Regions from separate parts of the Homo sapiens genome. Here all the other regions are linked to region 4. The links are contacts of gene promoters, found by promoter capture Hi-C in blood cells and fetal thymus (Javierre and others, 2016). All regions are on one chromosome and are shown on one strand. Each heading gives the region's core, a stretch centred on a gene start or on the middle of the fragment in contact. The rest is flanking DNA. Distances are from core to core; before and after follow the strand shown.

What was found. The method cuts DNA at HindIII sites, captures the fragments that hold promoters and counts their contacts. A CHiCAGO score of 5 or more calls a contact.
Region 1: a fragment that was not itself captured here is called in contact with the fragment with the promoter of ACTRT2 in region 4 in 6 of 17 cell types (megakaryocytes, M1 macrophages, M0 macrophages and 3 more); the score reaches 9.0 in megakaryocytes.
Region 2: a fragment that was not itself captured here is called in contact with the fragment with the promoter of ACTRT2 in region 4 in 14 of 17 cell types (M0 macrophages, megakaryocytes, M1 macrophages and 11 more); the score reaches 33.8 in M0 macrophages.
Region 3: a fragment that was not itself captured here is called in contact with the fragment with the promoter of ACTRT2 in region 4 in 3 of 17 cell types (M0 macrophages, M2 macrophages and M1 macrophages); the score reaches 6.4 in M0 macrophages.
Region 5: a contact is called between a fragment that was not itself captured here and the fragment with the promoter of ACTRT2 in region 4, in 7 of 17 cell types (megakaryocytes, M0 macrophages, M2 macrophages and 4 more). The highest score is 12.9, in megakaryocytes.
Region 6: a contact is called between a fragment that was not itself captured here and the fragment with the promoter of ACTRT2 in region 4, in 1 of 17 cell types (fetal thymus). The highest score is 5.0, in fetal thymus.
Region 7: a contact is called between a fragment that was not itself captured here and the fragment with the promoter of ACTRT2 in region 4, in 1 of 17 cell types (megakaryocytes). The highest score is 7.1, in megakaryocytes.

Annotation. Positions count from the first base shown.
Region 1 is chr1:3,364,394-3,367,966 of GRCh38, forward strand. All of the region lies in intron 3 of PRDM16 (PR/SET domain 16), which reads left to right. Among named protein-coding and RNA genes, the nearest start is that of ARHGEF16, 88 kb to the right of the region's middle. The HindIII fragment of the contact is 3,111 bases long and covers 346-3,456 here.
Region 2 is chr1:3,427,305-3,430,765 of GRCh38, forward strand. The region is part of intron 14 of PRDM16 (PR/SET domain 16); the gene reads left to right. Among named protein-coding and RNA genes, the nearest start is that of ARHGEF16, 26 kb to the right of the region's middle. The HindIII fragment of the contact is 2,939 bases long and covers 102-3,040 here.
Region 3 is chr1:3,447,827-3,451,200 of GRCh38, forward strand. No RefSeq gene overlaps it. Among named protein-coding and RNA genes, the nearest start is that of ARHGEF16, 5.2 kb to the right of the region's middle. The HindIII fragment of the contact is 5,295 bases long and covers 1-3,374 here.
Region 4 is chr1:3,019,609-3,022,920 of GRCh38, forward strand. It overlaps ACTRT2 (actin related protein T2), which reads left to right and starts at 1,859. Exons shown (of 1, transcript NM_080431.5): 1 at 1,859-3,295. The coding sequence starts at 2,079. The coding sequence ends at 3,212. The HindIII fragment of the contact is 17,158 bases long and covers 1-3,312 here.
Region 5 is chr1:3,403,107-3,406,377 of GRCh38, forward strand. PRDM16 (PR/SET domain 16) reads left to right here. Exons shown (of 17, transcript NM_022114.4): 7 at 1,633-1,780; 8 at 2,389-2,542. Among named protein-coding and RNA genes, the nearest start is that of ARHGEF16, 50 kb to the right of the region's middle. RefSeq lists an enhancer at 457-957. The HindIII fragment of the contact is 6,765 bases long and covers 1-3,271 here.
Region 6 is chr1:3,299,483-3,303,065 of GRCh38, forward strand. All of the region lies in intron 3 of PRDM16 (PR/SET domain 16), which reads left to right. Among named protein-coding and RNA genes, the nearest start is that of ARHGEF16, 150 kb to the right of the region's middle. RefSeq lists an enhancer at 1-1,023. The HindIII fragment of the contact is 751 bases long and covers 1,900-2,650 here.
Region 7 is chr1:3,383,187-3,386,781 of GRCh38, forward strand. PRDM16 (PR/SET domain 16) reads left to right here. Exons shown (of 17, transcript NM_022114.4): 4 at 1,966-2,100. Among named protein-coding and RNA genes, the nearest start is that of ARHGEF16, 70 kb to the right of the region's middle. The HindIII fragment of the contact is 1,745 bases long and covers 1,119-2,863 here.

The DNA of each region.
Region 1 (3,573 bases), core at 651-3,150, 340 kb after region 4:
TGCCCGACAAGGAGCCACAGCCTCTTGAAGCGCTCAGAGGTTAACACGGTGACACCCACCCTATCTGGGGCACTTTCTGGACAAGCCCCCGGAGGATGGCTCCTCTTCCATTCCAACCCAGGCCTCCACTGAGCCGTCCACATCCAGGATTCCCACCGCTCAGCCCCTCACCCCCGGCAACAGCCTAGTAATGACCCTGGGCTCCTGCACGTGGCCCCCTGGTGCAAGGGCAAAATTAAAGCAGGCTGGACAGCAGCATAGTTATTTGCTGCCGGGCAGTGACTTCCTCCCCCACTCAGCTGCGCGGGGGACAGGCGGGCCTTATGGAAACCAGAGGCAGAGCAAAGCTTTAATTTTCATGGCCGGGCCAGGAGGCCCAGAGGCCCAACATGGGCCCGCGCAGCCTCAGCCAGGTGCCCCGAGCAGGACACGTTGCTTCGGAAGGAAGCAGCATGTTTTCGGGGACCCTGTGGTTTCTGGGTGCTGCTGTTCCCACCTGGCGAGCGCTGCCTTCTGCACGCTGCCAGGGCTGTGTGTGTACGCCGTCCCTCATTCCCTCGTGCAGCCTGGGAAAGCCTTACCCAGTGCTGGGCCCCTGAAGTTTCCTCCCAGGGGATGCAAAGGAAGGGAAGGCACCAGGGTCCCCAGGAGAAAATAGGTTTCTCTGAGCCAGGGACCCACTCGGCCAGTGGGCGAGGGCAGCAACCTGGAGCTGGCACTGTGGGTTCCTTTTGGGTCTGTTCAGGAAAGTGGGAGTCGGGTCGCATGGCCCCCCGCCTGGAGCTTGGCAGTGCCCAGGGGGCCTTGGGTGGGCGCAGTGACCCTGGGCGCCCTGTGCCGCCGTCCTCCTCTGCCACACACTCAGCCTGCTGTGGCACCAACAAACCCCTACCAAGCACCTACTGTGTGTCACACGTGTGCCAGATCTGGTTCCCCACCCCTGGGCTGGGGGCTGTCCCTGCCCCTGAGGGTCAGGAAGAGGAAAGGCGCGTGTGGCTGGGTTTGGGAAGGAAGGAGAGGCAGTGAGGAGGGGACCTCCTGGCCAATACAAGTGCTCCCTCCCGCCTCTTCCTCCTTATATTGGGCAGGCCCACACCCCAAAGCCCCACTGTATTCCACCACAGGACCTGAAAGAGCTCTGGACCATGGGGTGATCCATGGGGTTGGTGGTGCCCCCAGAGTCAGCCAACAGACAAGGAGAGGGAATACTGGGGGCTCTGTGCTAGGCAGCCAGCGGCCCTGAATGTTAGCTGCAGGCAGAGGTGTCAGGCCCTGAAGCTGCCACTGCACACACAGGTCATAAATCCCGCCTAAGTGGCTCCCGTCACCTCGCCGCGGCCTCGTTTCCATTCTGCAGCAGCCAAAGGTGATTAATGAGAATTATCATTTGTGCTAATCAGAGCCGTTTGGAGGAGGTTGGGGTGGAAGGAAATGCCCTTTGTGGGGCTGCAGGGACGACTTTGAAGGCTGTCAGCTGCACGTGTTTATGTGCGCAGGGATGCACGTGCACACACATGCACACATACACACACGCACACATGCACACAAACGCACACGCATGCACACATGCACACACACGCACACACGCACACAAACATGCACACATACGCGCACGCACACACACATACACATACATGTTCATGCCACATACGCACAGAACTGGCCTGTGGGGCCAGGGAGGGTCTGGGAAGATGGCGAAGAGGTGAGGCTAAGAAATAACCCTTGACCTGTGGCTCAGGGGGGCTCTAGCGCCCCGATGTGCCGACAGCCGGAGAACACAGGCTTCGCACAGCTTGGTCCGGCTGGAATGAATTCTTTCCTGCCACTGAGCACGACCATGACTTAATGCGCTTGGCGGCCGCTCGCAGACTAGACAGGCTTGGCCAAAATCAGACCCAGTGCAGCAGGACTCCGGGACGCGCTGATGTCCTGACGGGAAGGCACGCACTCTCTGTGGGTTCTGCCTTCTCCCCTCAAGTGGACGGCCGTGTCCCCTGCCCTGGGCCCTCCATGCCTGTTCGCGCTCAGTATGCCGGGACACTCTCTTCCCACCCATCTCCCAGGCTGTGCCGACCAGGGCTGTGCAGCGGGCCTCCCAGCCTCCGTAGCCTGCTCCGGGGGCCAGTGTGGCTTAAAGATACAAAGTGTCCTTTTATTGGAAATATCAATTCAGAAAGGGGCTAGTAGTAAGCTGAGAATATTTGGATAATCTTGACAGCCCTGAGGACTAAAAAAGACCTTTTGTTCCCAGAGAGAAAAAGGCCGTCGCACCACCCTGGGCTTGCTGGAGCAGTTCCAGAAAAAACTGAGGTCGGAGCAGAAAAATGATTAGGGCGTCTCGTGAAAGATCTCTACTCTAGGTCAAATGTTTATTATTATTTATTTTATTTTTTTACTAGAATGTGTGGTTAACATGCTATTGCATAACATCAGGCTGTAACCGTGTCTGTGAACACCACGTCAGTCTACCCGGTCTGTAGTGCACAAAGAGAACTTTGTAGCATCCCGGGGAGTGAGGGGGCTGCACGTGCGTGTTTTGTTTTGCTAGGCTTTGTTTTCAGGATGCTGACGACCGGTTAAAGATGGAGCAAGGGCCGGGCACAGTGGCTCACGCCTGTAATCCCATCACTCTGGGAGGCCGAGGCCGGTGGATCACCTGAGGTCAGGAGTTCGAGACCAGTCTGGCCAACATGGTGAAACGTCATCTCTACGAAAAATACAAAAAATTACCCGGGCGTGGTGTTGGACCACTGTAATTTCGGCTCCTGGGGAGGCTGAGGCAGGAGAATCTCTTGAACCCGGGAAGCAAAGGTTGCAGCGAGCCGAGATGGCACCATTGCACTCCAGCCTGGCCTGGGCAACAAGAGCAAAGCTCTGTCTCAAAAAAAAAAAAATTGATGGAGCAAGCATCTTTAGTGTTTGCGGCTCAAGAACATAACTGCCATGGGGAGGTCTCTGCTCCATTTGGACAGGAAGCGTGTGCGGGTTTCATGGCAGACGTGACTTGGGAGGGGTCTTGTCTGGCAGAGGAAAGTTGAATTCAAGCTCTTTGCTGTGGTTGAGCCAGGTGGGGACACCCCTAGATGCTACCTTTCAGCTGATCCCAGGCCTAACGCACCCACAGCCAAATGGCTTTTGGGGAGTGGCTGGAATGTGACAGCTGCCGGCCCAACAGCTCTCAAAAGTGCCGGGCTCAAGCGTCCATTGTCCAAAAACACGTGCGGTCCTGTGGTTCCCTAGGTTCACAAGGAGAACTTCTTCCCCGCTGTAGACTACGTGTATAAATAGAACATATTGGCAAGAGTGGAAGGAGTGTATTTTAAAGCACTTACACTTCTGAATGTATGTTTTATACTGATAAGAATTAATGGAGCCGGTAGTGAGTACACTGATTTTCAGTGTTATGATTCTGTTATATTTTGTTTTAATTAAATGGGATATGAAATCGAAAAGGCAAGCTTGTCTTCAAAAGAAGGCATTTGAGGAAGAATCAAACTAACTCTTTGTACTTTAAAAAATCATTTAAAAGTAGTTGTTGTTTAGAGAGGAAGACTAAACAAAAGCAACTTAACG
Region 2 (3,461 bases), core at 321-2,820, 410 kb after region 4:
AAGAGGCCTGAGGGGGTGATCCCCTGATTCTACAGAAGGGAAAACGGGGCCCACAGAAGTGGGGTGTCTTGCTCAGGCCCAGAACCTAGAGCCAGATCCCAAGCTTTTACCGCACTGGCCATGGGCGGTCTAAGGCTCTGTACCCACAGGGCCCAGCTCACTCCCCACCACCTCCAGTAGGTGAAGAAGAAGCCCCCTGAGACCCCAGCTCCCTCAGAGCCCATCCCCTCCTCCAGGGCAGGGCTGCGTCTTCCTGTCATTGCTTCTAGGAGAGTGGGGGTACCTGGGAAAGAGGCATCCAAGCAATAAACACAGGAGGCAGTTGGACACTGGCTCTGGCAAAGCCACGTTCCAAATCTGTGCCCCTCCTAGGAAGGTGAGCTCACCTGTAGGGCCCTCAGCATCTTCATCCATCAGAGCCCAGAGCGGGCTCAGAGGAAGGGGCGGGGGGAGAAGCTGGCTCTGGGCCGTGGTCCCAAAAGCCTCACCTCCACCCCAGTGCAACCCCACCTACTCTGCAGCCCCCAGGCTGTCCCGGCATTCCCCAGTGGGCTCCAGGAACGATGGCCTGAAAGGAACTCTGCCCTGGCCACGCTGAGACAGCCGCATGGGAGCTGTTCGTGTTCCCTGCAGCTGCGTGTCAGACCCATGAGCGCCACAGGCCAGGCCTTACCTACGCCCCACAGCCCCGTCCCCAGGCACAATCCCCTAAGCTGCAGCTCCCAGAGTAAGGCCAGGCGAGGAACAAGTGAGGATTCATCAATGGCATCCTTGCCGGGGTGGGCCCAGGACCAGGAGCGTGTGCGGAGGCTGAACCACCTGGAGGACAGCAAGGCCCCCCTACCCCGAGCTAGGGTGCAGCCCGGCCGCACTGCAGGAGACCCACCAGGACCCCGAGCTAGGGTGCAGCCCGGCCGCACTGCAGGAGACCCACCAGGACCCCGAGCTAGGGTGCAGCCCGGCCGCGCTGCAGGAGACCCACCAGGACCCCGAGCTAGGGTGCAGCCCGGCCGCACTGCAGGAGACCCACCAGGACAGAAGGCTGTCTCTAAGAGAAAGAGATGTGGCCGGGCCTCCCCCTCGCCTATGGCAAGGCCCACAGTGCCCTGCTTCTCACAGCCCTAGGGGTGGGGACGAGGGAGGCTCTCCACACCTCAGAACATACGGGCACAGCCGGCCTCAGACGGACTCAGACTCAGGCCCTCGGAAGACCCGTCCTGCTGAGGCAAGGTCCCCGGGTCCAGCTGGCCTGGTCCTGAGAGCCCCTGCGTCACTGACGAAAATGAGAACAGGGCAAGGTGGACATAGGCAGCCAGTCCCTGGGGTGGCGGGAACGTTCCCTGGGCCTCCTGCAGAACCAGCTCCTGCCCTCCGCCATCAGGAAGGATCCAGTTCTGTCAGGAGTCCTGGTCCTGCAGCCCCGTGAACCCCTGAGTTGAATCATGTCCCTCAGCATTCCCAGGTGGAAGTCCCAGCCCCCGGTACCTCAGAATGGGACTCTCTTAGGAGATAAGGTCTTTAAGGAGGGATTAAGCAGAGGCCACACTGGGTAGAGTGGGCCCCAATCCAGCGGCACTGACGGCCTCTTAAAAAGGGGGCACTTGGAGAAAATCACGCAGGGGAGAAGGCCAAGGGAAAATGGAGACAGAGGTCAGGGTGATGCGCCTCCCAGCCAAGGGTCACCTAAGAGGGACAAAGGTCACCAAGGATGGCCAAGGAGGGCCAAGGGTCACATAGGAGGGCCGAAGAGTGCCAAGGTTTGCCAAGGATGGCCAAAGAGGGCCGGCAGCAGCGGGAGCTGGAGAGAGACCAGGGACAGATTCTCCCCCAGAGTCTTGGAAGGAACCCGGCCTGCCCTCGCCTGGATCTTGGACTTCTGGCCTCAGAGCTGTGAAAGCGTCCACGGCTGTTGCTTCAGGCCCCCATTCTGTGGGGCTTGGTTTGGGCAGCTCTGGGAAACTGACTGTCCTCCCTGTTGGAGCCAAACCAGCCACTGGGCCCTATTCTGTGTCCGTGCCGGATGCTCCGCTCCCCAACACTAAAAAGCAAATACTCTGTGCATGGGGGGTGTGCAGCAGACATAAAGAGGGCAAAGTCCCTGCCCCCAGCTGGTGGGAAGCCCATGCAAACCCACGTGGGGCCACCAGATGAGATCTCACAGCACATGCCCATGTGATGAGCCTGGGCTCTCACCCTGCGCCATCTCATCCCGTCCTCAGAGTGGACAGGGAGGGGTATGTCCTCGTGTCATCGAGAGGGCACAGGCCCCAAAGACAGAACCCCACCCGAGGGCACCTCACCAACAACCAGGGTGAGAACCAGGACCCGGATCCCAGCAGCTCCGTGGCTGAGGAGATGGGTGTGTGTACAGGACGCTCTTGGCCCCCAACACAGGCGACCAGGACCGAGGAACTCTCCTCAAGCCCTGAAACCTGGTGAGGTTCTGTCCGTCCTGGAAGGCAGAAAGACAAGAGATAGACACGTGGCCCATCTGTGGAGAGCCAGGAAATTGTGGCCTCCCCAAGCCCAGTTCCCGTGCACACAGGCGAGTCCGAGACACGGAGGTCGGTCGCCGTGAGACGCTGTCACTTTCTTGCTTGGATGCCAAGAGCAGGACCCCTGCATCTCACCCACACCGTGGATACCTCCCAGGGCAGCGGGAGGCAGTGCCCCCGGGCGGAGTGAGGACAAGGAAGAGTGGCCCTGGGGCTCTGGGCATGGGCAGTCCAGAAACTGCGTGCCCTGCCCTTTGCTTGGGCCCCTCTACCAGTATGTCCAGCATGTGCCCGGGGGCCCTCAGCTCCCCTGGGGCCCAGCCCACCCAAGACACAGCTCTTGGTCGTGAACATGAAGATGAGCCAAACTCTAGTGGCTCTTCCTGAAAGAAATGAGAATGCCCAGCCACACCCATGCACGCTTTGTTCTTTTTTATTTAATACTGAGGAACCGGAGTGGAGGGGTCCTGCCGGGCTGCAGTGACCCTGAGGGAAGTCAGGAGAGCCCTGGGCTGCAGAAGAGTCCCCCCACAGGCTCCGAAGCAAGCTTGTCCTGGTGCATTCAGACTGCTCACAGCAGGCTTTGGGCCCTCACTCTCCAGATCCCAGAGAGCCCTCCAGGGCTCCCGGCTCTCGGGCCAGTGCCCACGTCCTCGAGTTGTCAGCCTGAATTCCTTCCCCCTGAAGTCTGCCCTGAGGGTGCCCCTCGTGCACTGCCCAACCCCCGTGCCAGTGCAGGTCCAGCTTCCCCACAGGACTGCCCACTGCTTCCACCCCAACACCGCCCCGGCCCTGGTGTCCTCCCGGCCATAGCAGCTTGCTGCTGGGCCTTGCCCTGCCCCCACCGCCCCGAGCGCTTGCCCTCCTCTCCCGGGATCGCCCCCAGGCCTCCGTGCCTCTCACTCTGCAGAGTCAGTGGCTGGGCCCAGGGACCCGCGGGAGCTCCCTCAGGAAGGGGGCTGAGTG
Region 3 (3,374 bases), core at 747-3,246, 430 kb after region 4:
GTCCCTTTTCCCCATGGCAATATTCTTATTCTGAAATCCGCTTTTGTCTAATATCAGCATTGCCATGCATGCTTTCTTGTGACTAATAGTTGCATGCGTATCTCTTACTTTCCTTTTACTCTCATCCTATCTGTGTCTTTATATTTGAATCACCCTATCTAATAAGCATCATGTCACTGGGTCTTGCTTTTTATCCAGTCTGACAATCTCTATCTTTTAATTGGGGTGTTTAATCCATTCACATTTAATATAATTATTGGTATGGTTAGATATAGGCTACCATCTTGATATTTGTTTTCTATTTGTCAGATCTGGTTTTCGTCTTTTTTTCTGTTCCTCTGCCCTCTTTTGGATGAGTATTTTCTAGGATTCAATTCTCTCTTCTCCCTGGACTTATTAGCTGTAGCTCCTCACCTTAATTTTTAGTGTCTGATCTAGAGTTTTCAGTATTTATCTTCATCATTGTCTATCTTTAAGTGATATTATACTCACTGTAAAATATACAAACTTTACTCTGGTATATTTCTATTCTCTCCTCCTGCATTTTGAACTTTTACTGTAATATATTTCACTTTTACATATAAATTTGATAATACACTGTCGTTATTTTCACATTAGTCTCTGATCTTTTAAAGAACTGTTTTGGGCCGGGTGCAGTGGCTCACACCTGTAATCCCAGCCCTTTGGGAGGCCAAGGCGGGCAGATCACAAGGTCAAGAGTTCAAGACCAGCCTGGCCAAAATGGTGAAACCCCATCTCTACTAAAAAGATACAAAAATTAGCCAGGCATGGTGGTGTGTGCTTGTAGTCCCAGCTACTGGGGAGGCTGAGGCAGGAGGATCACTTGAACCCAAGAAGTGGAGGTTGCAGTGAGCTGAGATCGTGCCACTACACTCCAGTCTGGGCGACAGAGTGAGACTCCATTTAAAAAAAAAAAAAAAAAAGGAATGTTTTGAAGCACAGAAAAAAAGCCTCTCACATTTATTGACATATTTGCCATTTCCAGTGGGTTTCTACTCCTTGTGCAGACCTGAATTTATATCTGGTATCATTTTCCTTTCGCCTGAAAAAATTCCTGTGACATTTCTTATAGTGTGGGTCTACTGGTGATGAATTTTCTCAGCGTTTGCCTTAACATGTCTTTATTTTCCTTTCATTTTTGAAGGATATTTTCAAGAGAAATGGACATCTTGGTTGACAGTTTTGTTTTCTTTCAGCACTTTAAAGATGTTGTTGTAGTTCTCTCAGCTTTCAGTGTTTCTGATGACAAGCCAGCAGTTATTTTGGTCTTTATTCCCTTACGATTTTTCCCTCTGTCACTGGTTTTCAGCCATTTCATTATGAGGTACCTTGGTGTGGTCTGCTTTGTACGTATGCTGCCTTGACATCTTTGTACTTATTCTACTTCATTTTAAGGTCCTTGATTCTGTGGATCTATGAGTTTTTATTACATCTGAAAAATTTTCAGCCATTCTTCCTTTTTTTTTTTTTTTAATAAGACAGAGTCTTGGTCTGTCACCCAGGCTGGAGTACAGTGGTTCAATCACAGCTCACTGGAGCCTCGACCTCCCTGGGCTCAAGCAATCCTCCCACCTCAGCCTCCCAAGTAGCTGGGACTATAGGCATGCACCACCATGCCTGGCTAATTTTTGTACTTTTAGTAGAGACAGGGTTTCACCATGTTGCCCAGGCTTGTCTCGAACTTCTGGCCTCAAGTGATCCGCCCGCCTCAGTCATGCAAAGTTCTGGGATTACAGGCGTGAGCCACTGTACCCAGCCATTGCTTTAAACATATGTTCTTCCCTCCCCACTCCCTCCTTTCTGGTCCTCCAGTTACACATATTGTTAGACTGCCTGATGCCTGATACCGTCTCAAGGTGGGCAAGGCTCGGTTTCTGCCTTTTCCCTAGGTTTTTCCTCTGCGTGCTTCAGTCTGAGTAACTTGTCCTGGCTTCAAGTTTACTGATTGTTTTCCTCTGTAGTTTCATCTGCTGTTAATCTCATCCAATAGATTTTTTGTTTCCTACACTGTATATTTTCATCTTTAGGATTTCCATTTGATTCATTATTATACTTTCCATCTCTCCTTTGACTGTGATCATCGTTTCCTATAAATCCTTGGGTGGTGTGTGTGTATATATTATATATATGTGTGTGTGTGTATATGTGTGTCCGTGTGTGTCCGCGTGTGTGTGTGTGTGTGTGTGTGTGTATAGAGAGAGAGAGACAGGGTCTGGCTCTGTTGCCCAGGCTGGAGGGCAGTGGTGCGAGCTCAGCTCACTGCAGCCTCCAAATCCTGGGCTCAAGTGATCCTCCCACCCCAGTCTCCTGAGTAGCTCACCTAGCTAATTTTTTGTATTTTTTGTAGAGATGGGGTTTCACCACGTTGCCCAGGCTGGTCTTGAACTCCTGGACTCAAGCAACTCACCATCTCAGCCTTCCCAAGTGCTGGGATTACAGGCATGCGGCACCATGCCCAGCTGATCCTTTGGGGTATTTTTGATTGTTGTTTTAAATGCCTTCTCTGCGAATCCTGTCATCCGTGTCATTTCTGGGTCTGCTTCTACTGACTGATTTTTTTCCTAGTTATTTGTCACAGGTTCCTGTTCCTGCTTCTTCACATGTCTAGTAATTTTGCATTGGGTGCTGGAGGTCGTAAATGTGTAATTTTGCATTGGGTGCTGGAGGTCGTAAATGTGTAATTTTGCATTGGGTGCTGGAGGTCGTAAATGTGTAATTTTGCATTGGGTGCTGGAGGTTGTAAATGTGTAATTTTGCATTGGGTGCTGGAGGTCGTAAATGTCAAATTGTTTGAGTTTCTGGATTTTACTGGCCTTCTTTTCAAGCATGTTGAGTGTTATGCTGATGCACAGTTAACGTACTTGTGGATCAGCCTGGTCCTCTCAGGACTTGCTTTGAACTTCTGTTAGGTCATGTCTAGAGGAGCTGTCACCCTAGGATTACTTCAGCCCTTCACCTAGGACATGGCCTTCTTTGGTATCTACTGAATATTCTGGGTGGTCAGGATTTTTTCCCTCTGTCCCTGGTTTTCAGCCATTTCATTATGAGGTACTGTGGTGGGGTCTGCTTTGTACGTATGCTGCTTTGACTTCTTTGGACTTATTCTCCATTGCTTTGAGGTTCTTGGATCTGTGGATCTACAAGTTTTTATCACATTTGGAAATTTTTCAGACATTCTTTTTTTGAGACAGAGTCTTGGTACAGTGGCTGGAGTACACTGGCTCGATCATAGCTCACTGGAGACTCGTCCTCCCCAGGCTCAAGCGATCCTCCCACCTCAGACTCCCAAGCGGCTGAGGTCAACGAGGGATAGTCAGCGACGGTGCTTCCTTCCTGGTGGCTGACGTTCCAGC
Region 4 (3,312 bases), core at 609-3,108:
GCCAGAAAGGCATTGGAGGATGAGTCACCTCGCAGCCTGGGACCTGCCTGGAAGATGACCTTCGAGGGGGGCACCATTTGCCCGTGCACGCTATCGAACAGGAGCGGGGTTGGGATGGCGCCTGCCCCTGGAAGATGGCGTTCAAGGGGGGCACCCTCTGCCCGTGCCTGCTATCGAACAGGAGCAGGGTCGGGATGGTGCCTGCCCCTGCCCCGGGACACTCTCCGTGTCCCCCAGCACAGGCCTCAGGTGACCTTCAGCAGGACCTGCGGGGTGACCTTGATGTGGGCAGGGAGGAGCTCCAGCGTCTGGGTCAACAGGTTTCGAAGGAGGCCTCAGGGCCCTAGGCCGTGCCCATGGGTCAGTGCCTCCGTCCACACCTACTGCCTCAGGGAGCCCGGGGTCTCTGAGACGACTGCAAGCAAGCTGTGTGGTGGCTGCCACAGTTTCCAGAGAAATGGAGATTTAAGAGCCACACCTGCCCTGGCACGCTTTTGACTCAGTTTCCCTCTGGGGGGGTCCCCTCTAGGAAAATCCTTCAATAATCAAGTTTTTGTTGACTACCACCCAGGGATTAGTGGGGCCCACAAAACCACGTGTCAACAAGACACATCTACACCACACATCAACAACGAGTGTACCGCGCGTGTCTACACCACCCATCTATCCCATGCATCTACACGGCACATCCATATGCGTCTGTACCTCGTGTCTACACCACATGTCTGTACCACGTGTCTAGACTGCCCATCTACAACATGTGTCTACACCACCATCGGATTAATGCCTGCTGGTGGGTCAGCAGGGCAGGCAGGACACACAGAGGGGGCCACCAGCAGGAGCTGAGGGGCTCCAGGAAGGGAGTGACCCCGGGAGGCGTCCTCTGGGAGAACTCTGGGGGGCCAAGCTGGGCTGGAGCATGATTGTGGATATGACAGGAGAGGTAGAATAAACCTCACATTCTCCAAGGCCACCTCCAACCTCCTTAGGAAAAAAGTGAAGCTGGTTCCCAGGTTGGATCCCCTCCCACTTTCTCCCCAAGCGGAAGACAAAGCGGGGGTCTGAGTGCCGGGCGTGCACTGTTGTGGGTGCCCTTGGCCTGGCCCGGTGCCTCCTTCCTGGTCATGCTCAGGCCTTGACCTTTAATGGCCTGGTCACCTCTGAGCATTGCTCTGTGGTTGTGGCCTGACTGTGTGGCAGCTCATAGACACAGAGAGGTGTCACAGGCTGCAATCCAGGCTACCCATGTGAAACCAGCAGGCCATATCTTCAGGGCTGTTGGGTTCCCAACTCTATGGCTGCTGGACTTTGTTGTGTGCTGGCACTTCAGAGTCTGCAGAGAGGAATGAGGGGTGCTGGCCTCAAGCCAGAGCAGAGATGTATTCCTGGACAAAGGGCCAGCAGCCCAGAGGGCTTTGAATAGGGTCTACCCAGTGGGACAGACAGCCAGGACTAATGGGATGGAGGGAGGAGAAATCCCTGAGAGCTTCCTGGGGGAATCACTATTCAAAAGCACATTCTAAGTGCCTGCTGGGACAGAACTGCTTACAACACCCCTCCGACCTGGTGCTTGGTTTTCCCCCTTAGCAAAGGGAAGTGTTGTCACCCCAGAAGTTGCAGCTCAGGGGCCAGAGAAGCTGGTTTTCTAGGGTGCACGCAGGCTGGGCTGCTTCTCTCCACTCTAAAGCTAAGTCTCTGCCTCAGCCCACAGGCTTGTCCAGCACCGCCCTAGGATGCACTTGTCTCTCTCTCTCTCTCTCACCTCACCCTGTGGGGGATGGGGGACTCAGAGCCCCACCCCCAGGGCCTCTGAGGCTCAGGACAATCGTTGCCTTGGCTAGATTGTTACCTAGGAGACAACCCCCTGGCCCCCTGGAAGAGGCCTCAGCAGGCCCAGGCCACCTGGAGGGAGAGCAGACCTGCGGCTGAGGATGCAGGGCTCCCGGGCACGGTGCTAGCCCTGCCTTGAGACACCCCGAGAGCTGTGGGAAGAGCTGTGGGATCCCCTATTGCATCACAAAGCGGCCCTGGAGGGCTGGTCTTTATTTTGATGAGGCTGAGAAGGGAAGGCTGCGGGCATGTTTAATCCGCACGCTTTAGACTCCCCGGCTGTGATTTTTGACAATGGCTCGGGGTTCTGCAAAGCGGGCCTGTCTGGGGAGTTTGGACCCCGGCACATGGTCAGCTCCATCGTGGGGCACCTGAAATTCCAGGCTCCCTCAGCAGAGGCCAACCAGAAGAAGTACTTTGTGGGGGAGGAGGCCCTGTACAAGCAGGAGGCCCTGCAGCTGCACTCCCCTTTCGAGCGTGGCCTGATCACAGGGTGGGATGACGTGGAGAGACTCTGGAAGCACCTCTTTGAGTGGGAGCTAGGCGTGAAACCCAGCGACCAGCCCCTGCTTGCAACGGAGCCCTCCCTGAACCCCAGGGAGAACCGTGAGAAGATGGCAGAAGTCATGTTCGAGAACTTCGGCGTGCCCGCTTTCTACCTGTCGGACCAGGCGGTGCTGGCTCTCTACGCCTCTGCCTGTGTCACGGGCCTGGTGGTGGACAGCGGGGATGCGGTCACCTGCACTGTCCCCATCTTTGAGGGTTACTCCCTGCCCCACGCAGTCACCAAGCTCCACGTGGCGGGCAGGGACATCACGGAGCTCCTCATGCAGCTGCTCCTGGCCAGCGGCCACACCTTCCCCTGCCAGCTGGACAAGGGTCTCGTGGACGACATCAAAAAGAAGCTGTGCTACGTGGCCTTGGAGCCCGAGAAGGAGCTTTCCCGGAGGCCGGAGGAGGTCCTGAGGGAGTACAAGCTGCCCGACGGGAACATCATCAGCCTCGGGGACCCGCTGCACCAGGCGCCCGAGGCCCTGTTCGTGCCCCAGCAGCTGGGCAGCCAGAGCCCCGGGCTCTCGAATATGGTCTCCAGCAGCATCACCAAGTGTGATACCGACATCCAGAAGATCCTCTTTGGGGAGATTGTGCTGTCGGGGGGCACTACCCTGTTCCACGGGCTGGATGACCGGCTTCTCAAGGAGCTGGAGCAGCTGGCCTCCAAGGACACCCCCATCAAGATCACGGCTCCCCCCGACCGGTGGTTCTCCACCTGGATTGGAGCCTCCATCGTCACCTCTCTGAGTAGCTTCAAGCAGATGTGGGTCACCGCCGCAGACTTCAAGGAGTTTGGGACCTCCGTGGTGCAGAGAAGATGCTTCTGAAGGCCGCTTCTCGTTGGGTACCGTGGGGGGTGAACCCTAGCCCCAGCTTTGGGAGGATGTTCAATAAAGGACCAATGCCGGAACACCTGGCCACCTCGGC
Region 5 (3,271 bases), core at 173-2,672, 380 kb after region 4:
CGCCCCCCAACAGGTGTAGACAAAGGGCCCCCTGGTGGGACACACCCTGGGGATATGTGCCCCTTCTGGGACACTGGCGCTGCGGGCAGAGCAGGTGCAGGATCCCGTGGCCAGAGCCGCAGGTGTCCCCTGGCTCCGACCGCAAATGTCCTGGCCCCAGAAAGCCACCTCCTAGGCTCATGGCCCTGCCTGCCAGGGCTGCGCTGCGGGGAGAAACTAGAAAGGAGAAAAACTCAGGCCAGAGCCCAGACCTGCAGCCGCTAAGCCCAAGGCTACTTCTGTAATAAGGTCCCAGACCGGGATGGGGGTGGCAGCACCCACCACCAAGGGATTCATGGTGGCCCCACCCTCCGGACACACGAGCAGCTCCTTCTCAGATGGTAGGCAAGAGCCAGAAGGGGTCACCCCTATCCCCAAGGCACCAGCCCTGCTCCCCACCAGGTGGCAGCGGACTGTCCCAGGAGGGGCTTCAGAGACATGAGCGGGCCCACGGTGGCCCTCCCCTGCCCTGAGACCAGGCAGGAGCCAGCATCTGGGGCCTGGGCGGCCTTGGGGACCTGTGGCCCCCGGGAAAGACAAGATTCCTGGTCTCTGTGGGGAGTGAAACCAGGACATTCAGTCCAGTGCTGTAAGGAGCTATGGAGACTTTTCCAACCTGGGCCCCTCCTCCTGCCTTTGAGGATTTCCTCCAGGACAGCCTCGCAAAGTCAGAGCAAAGCCCATCAGGCCACTAACCGGCTATGTGATTGCTGGGGATTACCGCCCATCCCCGCACCGCTCCCTGGGGACGGCAAACCCTCCACCCGGAACAGATGACTGAGAAAATAAACGTTTGGGCAAATCCCAACTGCGGCCCTTCCCAGTAAACGCCGCTCAAGAGGGTCCGTGTTTTCTTTACATAAACACATAAATCACAATTAACAACGGGGGAAAAGATACAGTCTCCTGATGCTCGGGAACCAGGCGTTTCTGATCTGAATGGATGGCTGGGCCCCGTAATTAACGAGCCGTGATATATCACTGCTTTGCTCATGAAGATTAACGGTCATCCCTGGGACAAGGGAAGCCGGGGGTCCCCCAAGAGCAGGGAATTAGAGCGACTCCTTCATCCAAGTGCAGCGGCCCCTCCGAGCAGCTGTGCTCGGGTCCCCTCCGTGTCACCTGGAGACCCCCGAGTGACTCCCGACCTGCGTCCTCGGTGTGTGCCCAGCACTCAGAGGGGCATCCTTGGGTTTGGGGGACTTGCCCCACTCCTGGGTTCATGCCAGTGTTGAACCCCTTTTTTCTTAGGCCCAAGCCTAGCTGCAAGGCCAGGACCAGCTTGAGAGGCACCCAGGGAGTGTGGGCCGGGGTCCGGCACTGCCTCCAGCCGCCCTGGGGGTGGTCTTGGGTGAGGGATGGAACCATCCAGGTGCCGGCTTCCCCATCTGCTAGGGGAAGGCCGCCTCTGCCCCTCACAGCCCGGCCACGGCAGAGAGGAGGTGGGCAGGGAGACACCAGCATGTGCTCTGATCCCTCGGCAGCGTGGTGGGGGCTCCGAAGGGGCACTGGGAACAAGCTGTATGGTTGGGGTCCCCTCCCGGGCAGAGGGCAGGTAGTCGGGCCCCGCAGTGAGCCTCGTCCTCTGCGCAGCCTGGAGCAGCACATGGTCATCCACACGGAGGAGCGCGAGTACAAATGCGACCAGTGTCCCAAGGCCTTCAACTGGAAGTCCAACCTCATCCGCCACCAGATGTCCCACGACAGCGGCAAACGCTTCGAATGTGAAAACTGCGTGAAGGTAACCTGCGGGGCGGCCCCGTCTCAGCCCCGGGGCAGCAGGAGGCTGCAGACGGGCGCCCGCCCCCGTGCTCCCTACACCCCCTGGTCCAAATGTAGATGGAGTGCGGCAGAGTGGGTAGGAGGCCCCTGCGGTGGCTCGGGCCCTTCCGTGTGACTAGGAAGGAAAGGAAGTCTCAGGGAAGACCGTGTCCCCCAGGTCAGAAGGATCAGGGCCGAGACCAGAACCCAGGCCCCTCCAGAGCGCGGCTCCTGTCCTCCCGCCGGTGTGGAAGGAAGAGGCTGGCGGGGCTGAGCCGAGCCTCCACCCCGAGCCCGCCAGGGTCTCAGCACCACAGCTGAAAACGCTTTCTGCAGCCCTGTCTCACGCAGCCTCAGTTCAGGAATTGTTCTTGAGGAAAGCAGCCGGGGAGGCTCTGCGGCTCACTTAAGGCCCTGCAGCGGGTCCTTGCTACACAGAGACCTGTCCCGGCCTGCTTGGTGCAGACTGCAACGTGGCAAGAGAGACAGGCAGGGCCCTGCCCCCCACAGCCGGTTGGTCCGCCAGCCAGAACCAGGCCAAGGCGGGTGTCCAGGCAGGGCACGCGCCAACGGCATCCGTCTCCCCAGGTGTTCACGGACCCCAGCAACCTTCAGCGGCACATCCGCTCGCAGCACGTGGGCGCTCGGGCCCACGCCTGCCCCGACTGCGGGAAGACCTTCGCCACGTCCTCCGGCCTCAAGCAGCACAAGCATATCCACAGCACGGTGAAGCCTTTCATATGTGAGTGGTCGCCCAGCCTGGCCGCCTGCCCTCCGGGTGCGCGGATGCCGTGGCGGTCGGGCCGAGGTGGGCCATCCCCCAAGGTCTCCCCCGATCCGAGGGGCCCCAGTTTGTTCATAAAGCACTCATGGCAGGTTCTGACATCTCTGCCGCGTGCAGCCTGGTCCCCGGCAGGCACCCTCTGAGTTTGTCCCTCACTGCTCCCCTTCCCCATCCCGTCCTCCTCCACGGCTCCCCTTGCTTCACCTCACAGGGGCTGGAGGGGGGCAGTGGGTGATGGGAGGGACCAGGGTCCTGCAGAAGGAGCTGGACCCTCCCTCCCTGTTGCTACTCCCGTCCCCCGAACTCACTCCCCACCTGTGCCGAGCTCCAGAAGGGCGTGCTTCTGTGCTGCCCTGCACGTGACAGTCTCAGCAGACACCCACTGGGATTGTCAGGGCGGTGTCTCTAGGGGGCCCTGTCTGTGCCCAGTGCTGTTCCAGTGCGGGGGCCAGCCCTGAATAAAAGACCAGCTGTCTTTAGGAGGCTCGCACACCAATGGGAGGAGACAGGCAAGCCAGACAAGCAAGGTGGCAGGCACAGCTCTGGGTGCAGCGGTGTGGGGTTACAGCCTCACAGGGGGCCAGGCTGGCAGCCTGGTGTGGGAGCTGAGACTGCCTGTTCGATGAGAGGCGTTCCAGCAAAGACACAAGGAGAGTGAGCCCTGGGCACCTGTGGAGGAGGCTCAGG
Region 6 (3,583 bases), core at 1,025-3,524, 280 kb after region 4:
GTGATGTTTCAGATCCCAGTCGTGGTGACTCTGCCCTTGTTGAAGATGCTATGCTGTGGCCGTGATGTTTCCGATCCCAGTCGTGGTGACTCTGCCCTGGTTGAAGATGCCGTGCTGTGGCTGTGATGTTTCAGATCCCAGTCATGGTGACTCTGCCCTTGTTGAAGATGCTATGCTGTGGCCGTGATGTTTCCGATCCCAGTCGTGGTGACTCTGCCCTTGTTGAAGATGCTATGCTGTGGCCATGATGTTTCCGATCCCAGTCGTGGTGACTCTGCCCTGGTTGAAGATGCTATGCTGTGGCTGTGATGTTTCAGATCCCAGTCGTGGTGACTCTGCCCTTGTTGAAGATGCTATGCTGTGGCCGTGATGTTTCCAATCCCAGTCGTGGTGACTCTGCCCTGGTTGAAGATGCCGTGCTGTGGCTGTGATGTTTCAGATCCCAGTCATGGTGACTCTGCCCTTGTTGAAGATGCTATGCTGTGGCCGTGATGTTTCAGATCCCAGTCATGGTGGCTCTGCCCTTGTTGAAGATGCTATGCTGTGGCCGTGATGTTTCCGATCCCAGTCATGGTGACTCTGCCCTTGTTGAAGATGCTATGCTGTGGCTGTGATGTTTCAGATCCCAGTCGTGGTGACTCTGCCCTTGTTGAAGATGCTATGCTGTGGCCGTGATGTTTCAGATCCCAGTCGTGGTGACTCTGCCCTTGTTGAAGATGCTATGCTGTGGCAGTGATGTTTCCGATCCCAGTCGTGGTGGCTCTGCCCTTGTTGAAGATGCTATGCTGTGGCCATGATGTTTCCGATCCCAGTCGTGGTGACTCTGCCCTTGTTGAAGATGCTATGCTGTGGCCATGATGTTTCCGATCCCAGTCGTGGTGACTCTGCCCTGGTTGAAGATGCTATGCTGTGGCTGTGATGTTTCAGATCCCAGTCGTGGTGACTCTGCCCTTGTTGAAGATGCTATGCTGTGGCCGTGATGTTTCCAATCCCAGTCGTGGTGGCTCTGCCCTGGTTGAAGATGATGTGCTGTGGCCGTGATGTTTCCGATCCCAGTCATGGTTTTCCAGCCTCAGGAGCACATCTCCTCCTCCAGCAATTCTTCGTTCCCTGGAGCCTCGGAACCGCGGTGCAACTGGGGTGCGTTTGTGCCAGGGAAAATGGATTCTGCCGGTGTCTGACTCTACCAAGATCCACGCATCATTGTTAGCATTTCCTTTCATTTCTCTTTGTTATTATTTGTCTTTTCCACCTTGTACCATCCCCCCGAACCCCATTTATGTGTGTGAAGTCAGTTACTCTACCCATTGAGCAAGAGCTGAGCAACCGTGTATGGAAATATCTTCCTTCAACCGCTTAGATCCCAGACCCAGACTTTTGTCCTTCAGCACCACGAATGAAGACTTGCTATCACCCTCGCTGTGGTGTTATCTGTTTGCTTTTGGCACTTATCACCTGGAAGGCAGTCCCCGTTTTCTCGTCTCCACCAAGGGAGCTTGTCAAGTGCAAGGCTGCACTCCTTGACCCCACCAAACCTGACATGAAGTGAGGTTCAAGAAATGTTTGGGCCGGGCACAGTGGCTCATACCTGTAATCCCAACACTTTGGGAGGATAAAGAGGGCAGATTGCTTGAGTCCAGGAGTTTGAGACCCACCTGGGAAACCTAGCAAGACCCTGTCTCTACAAAAAAATTAAAAATTAGCTGGATGTGATGGCATGTACCTGTAGTCCTAGCTACTCAGGAGGCTGAGGTTGGAGGATTGCTTGAGTTCTGGAGGTCAAGGCTGCAGTGAGCTGTGATATTGCACCACTGCCCTCCAGCCTGGGCAACAGAGCAAGATCCCATCTCAAAAAAAAAAAAAAAAAGAAAAAAAAAAAGGAAGGAAGGAGGAAAAGAAAGCTTGCCAAACAAATGAATAAATGAAAAGCCAATAAATGCATTTGTAGTTGGGGATATGTGCTTTAGAGAAAAGGGGATGTTAGATTTGGTCATTTTAAGTGACTCCTTTATTAAACCCTTGGTTGTCTTTGTATTTTTAAAAGAAGACGTCTCGGTGACCCAGTGCTGAGGCTGACACCTCTGGCGGAGCCCAGCTTCCTTTAGCAAGGGCTCTGTAAGACCCAACTACAGACTGTGTCCAGGGCTCGAAAAACGTCCGGTGGGCAGGACAGGGGATAGAGAAGGTCTGGCCAGAAAACTGGATTTTGCTCTGTGTCTGTTGGCTTGTTACTAACCCCAAGCAAAGCCACTGTCCCAAGCTGGCCCAGACATCCAGGGTGTACCCAGGCACACAGGGGCACACACCACACCTGAGCCACATTCTGTGTTTTCCTGTGTGCTCCAGGCCTCCAGAGGAGCTCCCAGCCATTGGATTCTGTGGAAGTATCTCCTGACGCCCCCTGTTTGAGGCCCTTCCCGTGGAAATCCATCTGGCGCGTGTTGGTCACCGGGGGACTGCTGACTTAGCTCCAGCAGAATTTGGAGGGCCTTTTGGCTACATGAGAGTGCAGTTTGTTCTGTTGATATAAGTAGACGGTTCATTCTCATTATGCTCAGCTGCAGTTCTCTTCTATGCAGTTGCCAGGAATGCTGAATTAGCAGGTCCTAAACTGTTGCTCCTAGGAGAGATACTGTGTTAGGTTCCTGCAAGCTTCTGGTCACATTTTCATCTACTGGTCAATAAACAACCTTATTCTACATGTGGTTCTGCTTAGAAACCCCTTATCTAACACAGGCGTCTCCGAGATTTCCCGGGGTTGGTTCCAGATCATCACAATGAAGTAAATATTGCAACAAAGCCAGTGACGCAAATGTTTTGGTCTACCATACCGTAGTATGTGCAGTGTGCAATATATGGTGCCTAAAAACAGTGTAGATACTTTAATTTACAAGTACTTTGTTGCCAAAAAAAAGGTGACGGTGGCATGCAGTAAGCACCTGCTGTTAGAAGAATGGCACCAGTAGACTTGTTGGATTCAGGGTTGCCCCAAAGTATCCATTGTTGCCACAAAGTATCCATTTGTTAAAAAAAAAATGCAATATTGCAAAGCACAGTAAAGAGAAGCTCAATGAAATGAGGTGTGCCTGGATACATTGTCGAGCCATCCTCACTGTAACTCAGCCTGAACCAAGCTGCCCTAAGACATGTAATTCTACATCAGGCACCTTGCAGCCTCTCTGTGCCTGGGAACTGCAGACAACACTTTAGCACTGTGCGTGGGGCCATTTTAAACAGTGAAATCGGCCACAAAAAAACCAAACGTGGAAAACATGGCACTAAGTAGACTAGAAAGAACACCTGGTCACAGTGCGAGAGCTGAGACAAGAGGGTGGAGAAGACCCCAGCTGGGAGCACACATGCCAGACAACCCGGGTCCTTCACCCCTCGGTGCAAGTCCAGGAATGGCCTTGGGTGCACTTCATGTATTGATTTGGGGGTCACAAAGACATCTTAGCAAGTAGGCAAATTCAGGAATATAAAATCTGGGTATAATGAGGCTCAACTGTATAAATAAAAACCTATATAATATATATCAGTTTTATTGATATATACACTTATATATATCAGCTTTATAATACAT
Region 7 (3,595 bases), core at 741-3,240, 360 kb after region 4:
CTCTGAAATAAGACAGGCTTTGAGTGAATCTCCCACTGCCCTGGATGGAGCCAGAAGGGGCCCAGGGGCAGGCACGGCTGTGTGTGATAGGGAGCACAGGGACCCCAGGAGCACGCCCCTCTATCCTGGCTGACCTCCCGCCCTGCACCCCAATCTATCTCACCCAGCACCTCTGGAAACCCTTAGTCGGGAACCCCAGCTTGGTGGTGGATGTCAACAAGGAGACTGAGAGCAAGTGGAACAGGAAAGAGACTCGAGGCCCTCTGCCTGTCTCTGCTGTGCTCTGGGGGCCAACTTTCCCTGGAAGCCTCAGGGGAAGAGGGAACACCATGCACAGAGACCGGGGCACGTGGACCACATGCTTCCCCATTGATTGGTGCCGACGTTTAACTTTTCAAAAGAATTCCAGCACCAGGCCCGAGATGGCTAGGAACCCAGGAGAGTGCATGCCCAGCATCTGAGGGTCAGCCAGCACCAGGCCCGAAATGGCTAGGAACCCGGGAGAGTGCATGCCGAGCATCTGAGGTGCCCAGAGTCAGCCTCCACTGTTTTCACTTGGACAGGTCACTGTCTCATCCTGACTCCCCTGGGTCCTTGTGACTCCCTTATCCATCACCCCTGCCCGCCCAGACACACCTGCTCAAAGACACACCTGCCTAAGGACACACCTGCCCACCAGGACACACCTGCAGAAGGACACACCTGCCCACCAGGACACACCTGCAGAAGGACACACCTGCCCAAGGACACACTTGCCCACCAGGACACACCTGCCCAAGGACACACTTGCCCAAGGACACACCTGTCCAGGAACACACCTGCCCACCCAGATACACCTGCTCAAGGACACGCCTGCCCACAAGGACACATATGCCCACCGTGACCCACCTGCCTGCCAGGACACACCCACCCAAGGACACAGCTGCCCACCCACATACACCTGTCCAGCAGGACACACCTGCCCACCCATATGCACCTGTCCAGCAGGACACACCTGCCCAAGGGCACTCCTGCCCACAGAGACATAGCCTTTCTACTTTAGGGACCTGAGTGTAGCGTGGCCCCATCCCCTGCCCCCTGCCCTCCCTCCTGCCCTGTCTGGGCTGGGCTGCCCAGGAAGCTTGCCCAAGATGCTGCTGGTTTGAATTCAGAACCCAGAGTAGCTACTGGCCAGAGTGGGGGAGGCTGGGGGGCCTGCAGCCGCCACCCATGGTCAGGCTGTTTGAGGGGACACCGTCTCTCCACAGTGGACAGCAGGTCAGGTCTCCTCATCGGTGGTCCTCGGAGGAGTGGGGGTCACAGCAAATAAGAAAAGTCCTAGGGGTTGCCACTCTGCCCGTTCAGAGGCAACAGTGACAACAAAGCAAAGCCAAGTTGGTTCGCGTGTGACTTTGCGGGCGTGGTGAGAACAGCTAGGCGTCTTCATGCTGCTGGGTGTCAAACTGAAACTCTCCAGCTTTAAGGAAACCAGATGCTTTTCTTGCTCTCAGAGTGATGTGCAGGCTGCCCTGAGCATGCACACACACATGCACACCCAGCAACACCTTCACCTTCAGACACGCTTTTCTCTAGCGCAGCGTCCCAGCTCCTTAGCAGAGGGCTCTGCTCCCAGATGCAGCAGTCCCTGCCTTCTCACACGTGGGTCAGCTTTGCTGCGGGGGTGGGGGTTGCAACTCTGGAGGCTCATTTTATCGCCGGGCCAGGGCAGTGATCTGCTCGGTGAGAAAAGAAAAGGCCATTCCCTGCCTTTCTGCTGGGCTCCTGGAGACTCCTGGAGACTCCCGGGCATGGGCAGGCTGGGTGGGCTGGGAGCCCCGCTGATGCCCGGAGGGTGGGCTGAGGTCTGGACGCCGACTTGCCTTCCTACTTGAGCCCAAACAGCCAGGTTTCTGGGTGGGCAGAGGCTGTGTGCAGACTCCAGCACACAGGGCACCTCTGACTCCCGCTTCGCTTTCCTCCCAGCAGATCTCCGAAGACCTGGGCAGTGAGAAGTTCTGCGTGGATGCAAATCAGGCGGGGGCTGGCAGCTGGCTCAAGTACATCCGTGTGGCGTGCTCCTGCGATGACCAGAACCTCACCATGTGTCAGATCAGTGAGCAGGTAGGTCCGGGCTCATAACAGGGGCTTCTGCCTCTTGGAATTGTCCCTGAGGATGTGGCACCAAGATTGGTGGAGGTGCCGAGGCAAGGGTTGTCTGAGCCTCTTTGGGGACATCTGCCAAGCCCTGGCCTGCAGTGGGGGTGCTGTTTGGTGCTTGGCCAGCACTGGCTTCCGGGGAGCTGACTCACCCCGGGAGGGCTCCATTGGAGCCTTGCTCAGGGACCCTGCCTGAGGCTGGCAGTTCCTGAACCCCGAGATGGTGGTTCAGGTGGAAAAGAGCAATGAAGCAGGCAGGACCGCGGATCACAGGGTCCACACTTCCTGCAAATGCCGCTTCCCTGAAGGACACGGGAGAAGCATAGAGCAGGAACAGTCACTGAAAGAATCCATCTAAATGGCGCTGTTTCACCAAATTTTCCGAAGAGTCCGCACCGGCCAATGAGGCAGCCACTCGGGGGGCCTCCTAGAGCCTCCGGGGCCTCTGACCAGCCTGCTGAAGGCCTTGGCCTTTTTGGCACAAAGTCCCTGTCCTGCAGGCAGCGAACCAGGCAAGAGATACCTTCACTTCCGTCCCTGCCACCTCGGGGCTGAGGAGCCCCCTAAGCTCCCTGGATCCTTGACCTCCACGGCTGGTCCACACCACCACCAGAACAGGCATCCAGACCCACAGGCTGATCAGGGGAGAAGACGCGGAGTCTCCTTCCACTCCAGAAGGCACCGTGTCCCCAGAGCTGGTCGCTGCTTCATGGATTTCTCTATTTCAAGCTTGCGAGTGGCCCCTGGAGGCCCTTCTCACTCTCAAGCCAGGCCTCCCGGGCGGCACTTTCCGCCTGCATCCTGAACACCGTGCGTTCCTCGGGGTGCCCGGGGTGCCCGGGGTCCCCGGCCCCTTACATCACAGTAGTCTGGTTTTTCCTGTAATATCTTGGGGTCATACATGAGATTTCATTTGAAAAAAAAGAAAAGGATCCCATGGCTGTGAAAAATGTGTGTGAAGACCACGTCACGGAACATTCCCGCGTAGCCTGTGCAAGCCATTGAAAGTGATTCAAGGCTCTCGACTTTACAGAAACAATTTTGCATTAAGAAATGCACAGAGCAAACTCCAGGGAGGTCCCGCAGGCCCCGGCTGGCTGCCAGGGGCTCTCCCTCATTTGCCGTCCCCTTGGCTGTGGAGCAGAATCTCCATCGAGCAGTTGCTCCGCTGGACAAGCTCGTTCTGGATGGGGACATGAATCTACGCTACTACCAGGACTTCCGTGGCCTTCAGTTAGAGCCAAAAATGTTTAAAATAACTTTTTCTGATTGAAAAAAAAATACAGAGATGAAGCAAAAGAATAATCATAAACATAAGAGCAGAACTTAAAAAAATTTTTTTCTTTCTTCCAGATGAAAGTGAAATTGGAGTGAAGGAAAATTGGGCTTGAGGCGCATAGAAGGACGGTCTTTCCGTCCCCTTCTGGGGCTCAGATTTGCAGAGTGTGTCCTTAGTCGT